2 separate regions of the Homo sapiens genome follow, and region 1 is linked to region 2. The links are contacts of gene promoters, found by promoter capture Hi-C in blood cells and fetal thymus (Javierre and others, 2016). All regions are on one chromosome and are shown on one strand. The core of a region is centred on a gene start or on the middle of the fragment in contact, and the rest is flanking DNA. Distances in the headings are between cores, read along the strand shown.

The links. The method cuts DNA at HindIII sites, captures the fragments that hold promoters and counts their contacts. A CHiCAGO score of 5 or more calls a contact.
Region 1: a fragment that was not itself captured here is called in contact with the fragment with the promoter of PXK in region 2 in 3 of 17 cell types (total B cells, naive B cells and neutrophils); the score reaches 9.7 in total B cells.

Annotation. Positions count from the first base shown.
Region 1 is chr3:58,376,260-58,380,094 of GRCh38, forward strand. The region is part of intron 3 of PXK (PX domain containing serine/threonine kinase like); the gene reads left to right. It also overlaps the pseudogene WDR53P1. Among named protein-coding and RNA genes, the nearest start is that of PXK, 45 kb to the left of the region's middle. RefSeq lists a silencer at 1,597-1,824. The HindIII fragment of the contact is 5,157 bases long and covers 1-3,835 here.
Region 2 is chr3:58,331,371-58,335,272 of GRCh38, forward strand. PXK (PX domain containing serine/threonine kinase like) reads left to right here and starts at 1,522. Exons shown (of 18, transcript NM_017771.5): 1 at 1,522-1,720. The coding sequence starts at 1,619. RefSeq lists silencers at 1,296-1,825, 2,072-2,366. The HindIII fragment of the contact is 5,516 bases long and covers 1-3,902 here.

The DNA.
Region 1 (3,835 bases), core at 149-2,648, 45 kb after region 2:
CAAAAATTAGCCAGGCGTGGTGGCAGGCACCTGTAATCCCACTTACTCGGGAGGCTGAGGCAGGAGAATTACTTGAACCCAGGAGGCGGAGGTTGCAGTGAGCCAAGATTGTGTCATTGCACTCCAGCCTGGGTGACAAGAGCGAAACTCTGTCTAAAAATAAATAAATAAATAAAATTAATTAATTAGCCTATGGTAAAATTAGTCTTGTTATTCATTTTGCTTAAAGTCCCAGTTTGTAAGAACCTATAGACAACATTAAGTGATAACTTAGCATACACACACGTAAATGAGATGATATTCTGCAACTTCATAAAATAGTTTCAGGGAAGATACATCAGTTGTGTTTTAGGTAATATATTACCCTTTATTATTTATTTATTTATTTATTTATTTTTGAGACAGAGTCTCACTCCATTACCCAGGCTGGAGTGCAGTGGTGCCATCGTGGCTCACTGCAACCTTTGCCTCCTGGGTTCAAGCGATTCTTGTGCCTCAGCCTCCTGAGGAGCTGAAATTACAGTCGTGTACCACCATGCCTGACTAGTTTTTGTATTTTTAGTAGAGATGGGGTTTTGCTATGTTGATTAGGCTGGTATCTAACTCCTGACCCCAGGTAGTCCACTTGCCTCGGTCTCCCAAAGTGCTGGGATTACAGGCATGAGCCACTGTGCCCGGCCTACCCTTGATTTAATTCATCATGTCCTTGAACCAAAAAATAAAGTGATTGGCTTGGATGTGCAATAGCTAAGTGATGTACTTTCTTCATATGTATGCATTTTATTCAGCTAAAAAAGAAACTGCTATTAGATAAAGCCTAACTGTATAAATGAGGCAAATGATGTGAAATTTGATTCTTATTTGGAAATGAATTATGCTGTGATAGAAAATTTACTCTGTGTATGCTCTGACATATTTTCGTAATTATATTTGAGAAATTGGCAATTTAGAATTATCCGCCAACCTTTTCATCTTGTCCAGTATCAAGTTCAAGGTCTTCATTTGGCTGCATCATTGTTGTTTGAAAAATACAGAATGGAACAGTTAGGTTTGCCCAATTTAATGGTTTAGATTACATCCTTTTCTGAATTCAGGATGCCCTTCTCTTTAGACCTTACCCTCGATCAATACACATGCCACTGGACTGCTCTAATATAAGCACAAGTCTAGAATAGTACTACTCTTTGAAAGTGACTTTGCTCATTAAATTAAAATGCCGATCTCATGCTTTGCTTTTTATGTTTAAAAAATAAACTCACAGTCCCAGCTACTCGAGAGGCAGGCTGAGGTGGGAGGATTACTTGCAACCAGGAGTTCAAGTACATAGTGAGACCCTATCTCTTTCTAAAAAAAAAAAAAAAGAAAAGAAAGAAAAGACTAAAAGTTTTAAATAATGTGGAAAATGATAGTAGATTGAGTACCTGTATTTACTTTTTCTCCCTCCCGAAATCAGTCTAGAATAATAGTGGATTGTTTATATACACAAACACACTCTGAAGGACAAACAGAACAGGAGAAGAAAAAACCACAATAAAACACTTTAAGCTGAAAATCCAGTGGGTGAGAGCTAACTGATTAAGCAAATGTAGGAAGGCAGAATTCTGAGATGGGAAGCAGATAATCTCATTGGGTCTCAATTTATATCACAGAACCCCTGGAAGGTTCCAGCATTGGCAGTACCAGGTGCTGCCCCCAGAGTGGGGTGAAGGTCAAGGAGTTGCAAGTCTGTTTAAGAAGCAGTCAGATCCCCAAATCTCCCATGTCCGTACAACTTATGCCTGCCCTCCTCCCTCTAGCAAAAAACCGTAAGTTTATTTTCTGGAGAGGGTCAGTCTTTAGGCTGGGGTATGCAGGCACATTTGAAAACATGTACGTACTATACGTGAGGACCCCACTCCCTCCCTAGCTTCCTTCTTCCTCTCAACTCCCAGAATTCTGGCAGTCAGGCTTCAGACTTTTCAGGCAGGATATTAGAAGATTGTTTTAGAGGAATCTGTCCTGCCTAAGAGGAAAGAGCTAAAGGTTTGTCCAGTAAAACAGCTGCATAGGGTCATCTGGTAAAATAAAGCCCACAGTAGATAAATCCCAGGGCACTCACCCAGAGGTTCCAGTCAACTTTTGGTGCCCCACTCTTGAATATGGGCTGATAACCAAAGGGTCACCAGACTCCTACAGGACTCATTTTTGTTTCTTATTTAAATGTTTTCATTGGATTTGGACTTCATTTTTCTTCTTTTTTTTTTTTTTTTTTTTTGTGTGTGTGTGTGTGTGTGTGTGTGTGTGTGTGTGTGTGTGACGAAGTTTCGCTCTTGTTGCCCAGGCTGGAGTGCAGTGGTGGGATCTCAGCTCACCGCAACCTCTGCCTCCCAGGTTCAAGCGATTCTCCTGCCTCAGCCTCCTGAGTAGCTGGGATTACAGGCATGCATCACCATGCTCAGCTAATTTTTTGTGTTTTTAGTAGAGATGGGGTTTCTCCATGTTGGTCAGGCTAATCTCAAACTCCCGACTTCAGGTGATTCGCCTGCCTCGGCCTCCCAAAGTGCTGGGATTACAGGCGTGAGCCACCGCGCCCAGCCGGACTTCATTTTTTTAAGGAGTATGTAGACATAACTAGTCTGATCAGATATTAGCATATATATTTTGGTAGCCCTTTATTATTATTATTAGTAGTAGTAGTATTTGAGACAGAGTTTTGCTCTGTTGCCCAGGCTGGAGGGCAGTGGTGCAATCTTGGCTTACTGCAGCCTCCGCCTCCTGGGTTCAAGCAATTCTCCTGCCTCAGCCTCCTGAGTAGCTGGGATTACAGGCACCCACCACCTTGCCTGCCTAATTTTTGTGTGTTTAGTAGAGACGGAGTTTCACCATGTTGCCCAGGCTGGTTTTGAACTCCTGACCTCAGGTGATCCACCCACCTCAGCCTCCCATAGTGCTGGAATTACAGGAGTGAGCCACTGCTCGCGGTAGCCCTTTATTTTTATACCTAAGAACTAGTTTACTTTTTCTCCATGTTCAATACTTAGCTTTGGTAAAAATTTGCCGTGTTCTTCCTTATCTGTTTCAGAAGCATTAGAGTTTCACCTACTTGGTGTAAGTTGCTCTTTAATTGTCTTCCTGTGGATATGTTTTGTAGGACTCTCTGCTTTTTCTAAATTTCACTACTCACATCCCACAACATTATCTTCCCATAATTCTGGCAAAAAGGAGTCCTGGGATACCTCTGAAGTGTGGCCCTTAAATCCCAGTTCCTGTTCATACCTGACTCCCACCAAGAAAGACTTTTAACTTGAAAGTGACCAAAACAAATAGGAAAAAAAGGAACCATCAGGAAGCAGAAGGTATGCAGTGAGAAGAATGCTTTAGACTCTTGAGGAAGATTATCTTTTGTCTTCTCAGAGAGATAAGAAATGGTATTACATTCAAGGTGCTATTAAGGAAGAAAAAGAATAGAAAAGAGTACTTACAAATAAAAAGTAACAGTAGACAACTATTTAGAAGGGCTAAAAGATAAAGGAAATACTCTTTAAAAAAAAGAAAAGCGAAATACAAAAATTAGTCGGGCATGGTGGTGCACATCTGTAGTCCCAGCTACAGGTGTGTACCACTTGTAGAGGCTGAGGTGACAGGATTGCTTGAGCTTAGGAGGTCGAGGCTACAGTGAGCGGTGATCATGCCACTGCACTTTAGCCTGGGTGACAGGGTGAGAACCTGTCTCAAAAACAAAACAAAACAAAAAGAGCAGAAAATTAAAAAGATAAAATTACAGGAGCAGTCCAGGAAGTCCAACATTGAAAAAATAGGAGTTTCAGTAAAAGAAAGCAGAAGGCATGGAGGGGAA
Region 2 (3,902 bases), core at 272-2,771:
GCTAAACTCCTGGACTCAAGCCATCCACTCTCCTCAGCCTCCCAAAGTGCTGGAATTACAAAGGTGAGCCATCATGCCTGACCACGGTTTGAGGTGTTTTTGTTTGTCTGTTTTTTTGTTTGTTTTTTGAGACAGAGTCTCACTCTGTCACCCAGGCTGGAGTGTAGTGGTATGATCTTGGCTCACTGCAACCTCCCCCTCCCGGGTTCAAGCAATTCTCCTGCCTCAGCCTCCAGAGTAGCTGGGTCTACAGGCACGTGCCACCATGCCCAGCTAATTTTTATATTTTTAGTAGAGGGGGTTTTGCCATGTTGGCCAGGCTGGTCTCAAATTCCTGACCTCAGGTGATCCACCCACCTTGGCTTCCCAAAGTGCTGGGATTACAAGCGTGAGCGATCATGCCTGACCACCGTTTGAGTTTTTACTATGTGCCAAGCCCCTTCCCAGTCTACTGCATTCCTTGTATTAACCTTTTCATACAAATAATATTATCTCCACTTTGCAAATTGGGGAGTTGGGACTCAGAGAGGTTGGGTAACTTATTGAAGATCACACAGCTGGTAAATGCCAGAGCCATGGAGATGATGGTCCTCCAATTCTAAATTTAACTCTTCACTATCCTGGAATGCTGCCCTAGGAGAGGGCAGTGTGGGTGAAATTTCTAGGTGTATATGGAGATGGGGGGGATGAGGTGGTGCCAGGATTATGGCTTTGGGTTCAGGCAGACTGTGGGCAGATTTAGGGCTGAGAAGTTGATCCCAAGGTTCTCTGGCTTGGCTCTTGGTTTGAAGTTCTTCTAGTCCATATGGTGGGATCAAAAACTCCCAAGTCTAAGGGATGTGGTTGAGCCCGCAGTGGGGGCCAAGAGTAGAGGCTAGGGGTCTCTGGACCATTTTATAGGGTCTCCAGTTCTTAGAGCTTGGGTCTGAGGGTTCTGGGGCCCAAGACCTCCAATTATGGGGTCCAGCTCTTAGGTGTTCAGGCCTGAGGAGCCACGTTCAAGAGTCCCTGTGAAGTTTCAATAGGAAGGGCTTGTTTCAGAAAGTCTCTGGGTTTGCAGGGCTCAGACTGGGGGTCCCATCCTAAAGGCCCTTTTTCTGAGTTTTAGGGTCCTTGGGCCTGGGGGATGAGAGAGATCCAGTTCTGAGGGTTTCAAGAGGTACGGTCCCCGAAAAGCCCAGTTCTGAGAGGCCTGGTTTGGAAATCTCGCCCTGAAGATTCCTGGATCCCAGGGCTCAGGACCAGGCGTCTCTGGATCTGAGGATCCTGGTAGTGATGGCTTAGGGTGGTGTTCCCTGGTCCGAAGCCCGGAGCTAAGGGCACCGGGTCTGCGGTGCGGCTGCGAGGAGCAGGGAAGCGCAGGCCCATGGCAGCCGCGAGGCGGAGGAGCGGGCCAGCGGGCGGCAGTGCTGGCGGCCCCCACACGTTCTGCGCTGGGTCGGCGCTAGGACTCCGGGGCGGCGGCCGTGGGAAGGGCGGCGCTAGGACCCCGCGGGCCCGGCGGCGCGTGGGGCGGCGCGTGTTGACAGCGGCGGCGGTGGAACCGGGCGGGCGGCGGGAGTCGGCGCCTCGGGTTCCTACCTCGCGTCCCTAGGCGGCGGCGGCCGGGCGTCCCGGGATGGCCTTCATGGAGAAGCCGCCAGCCGGCAAGGTGCTGCTGGACGACACGGTGCCGCTGACAGCAGCCATCGAGGCGAGCCAGAGCCTGCAGTCCCACACGGTGCGCGGCCCAGCGGGCGGGCGGGCGGCGTGGGGCGGCCCCGGGCCGCGAGGGGGCTGCGGGCTGCCTGGCGCGGGCCGGGCAGGGTCGTCGGACGGAGACCGGGCCACAGGGTGGGCGGCCCTGGCCGAGAAGGCTGTGGCGCGCCGCTGGGTCTGGGTCAGGGCCCCTGGGGCCCAGGCGAACGCTGAGGCCCGGAGGGGCCAAGGATGGGGACCGCAGCTCCCGGCGCCGCGGGGTGGAAGGAGCTCGGCGGCGACCAGGAAAGCGACTCCGAGTTGGGGGGCGGGGGCGGGGGCTGCGGGATTCCCGGGCTCACCTTGGACTAGGGGAGCAGGAACGAGACCGCTCAGGACCATCCACTTCTGCCCGCCGCCAGCCTTTTCCTTTTTGAGGCCGTGTAATTTCCTCCTTGCAGCTGAGGGTCTGGGTGATGGGGATGAGGGTGTGCCGGGCCAAATGAAGTGTGACTCCAGAGCCTACTTGTTGGGACAGCAGAGTGTAAGTGGCTGGGGTCTGCAGCCCCGTTTCCAGGTCAGCCGCTTGGCCCTGGTCCCGGGAAGTGGTGGGGGCGGCAGTCGGGGCGCTGTTAAGCAGGTGTATGAATGTGCTTCTCTAACTTGCTCTTTAGTGGGCAGTGGTAGCATTCATTTGAGTTTAAAATCCACTCGAGTAGCATAAAGGAGTAATAGGTCCTCATAGTAAACATTGGCAGGGTTCATTTCTGCTACATATACGGTCTTTTATGGGGCTTTAAAACCGTGGTTGTTTTCATTTGCTTGTACCTTTTTTTTTTTTTGAAAGGCCCACTATGCATTATAATTTCCAAGCAATAAATCTAGGAACCAGCAAGAAACCTGGAGCTATCAGCTAGTGGGACTTTTTTGGAAAAGTAATGAGTGAGGAGAGAGATTCCTTCAATTGTGATGTTTTGTCAGTCCACCGAATCAGATTCAGACTCAGAGGCTTGTTTGTTTACCATTGCAGTGTGTTTGGGGGGTCATCATCTGGAGGCTAAAGCTCACAATAGCCTTCTGTTTCTCTTTTCGTTCAAGCTCTTCTGATGACTTCAAAGAGACCTTTTATTCTGTTGTATTAAAGTGAGACTTTTTTGAACCTCAGTTTCCTCTTCTGACAGCCGTGCTTTGTAGGGCTTGAATTGTTCAAAGCATTCACTTCCAGTTAAGAAAATTATTATCTTTTTAAAAAGGGCTATTTATTTCACGCTGTGTGTCTTTAATCCTATTCTGTAGACATGTGAGAAGGCACATACAGGACAGAATTTGTTAAACTTGCTATCATTTGTGCCTAAAGGGAGTATGGCATAAGGGTTGAAATTTAGGATAGGGAGTCAAGAGTAATTCAGCTATTAAATTTGATTTTTGACTTGACTATTGGCAAGTAAGTCTTATAACCTTTCAGGGAATAGTGTCGAGTCCTTTAGGTTTATTTTGTATTGAAAATAAAGAGATAGATGTTTCTAAATACTCACAAATTACTTTCCCTAGGAAGCATTCATGATTTCTACAGCCCCAGCCCATGTGCCTACCCACACCTTAATCTTGATTAGTTTGTCCTGTAATTACTTCTTTACTTTTTGTCTCCACCAGGCTACAAGAGGAGGGGCACTTCTTCCTCACTTTTGAGTCTCATTCCCTGGTTTTTGATAGGATTTCAAATGTGTTTATCAAATGACTAAATAATCCAACTTCAACCTTACTATGCCTCTTTTTCTGTTTATGTAAAATGGTAATTGTAAACATTGAAAAAATAACTTAGAGATCAGTGCTTTAGCTAGGTGGCGAAAGATGTAATAGGATTCTGTTTTTATTGTAAGGGTGTGTGTGTGTGTGTGTGTGTGTGTGTGTCTGTGTGTGTGTGTGTGTGTGTGTGTGTAGAGACAGCGTCTCACCATGTTGTCCAGGCTGGTGTGTGTGTGTGTGTGTGTGTGTGTGTGTGTGTGTGTGTGGAGACAGCGTCTCACCATGTTGTCCAGGCTGGTCTGGAACGCCTGGGCTCAGGCCGTTCTCCTGCCTCAGCCCCACAAAGTGCTGGTATACAGATGTGAGCCACCACACCTGGCCCTGCAGATCTTTTCTTTAAAAAATAAAATAATTTAGGGTAGAAAATGGCAGTTCTTGTAGGGATGACTGACCACAAAAGACAGTGACTCACAGGAGAC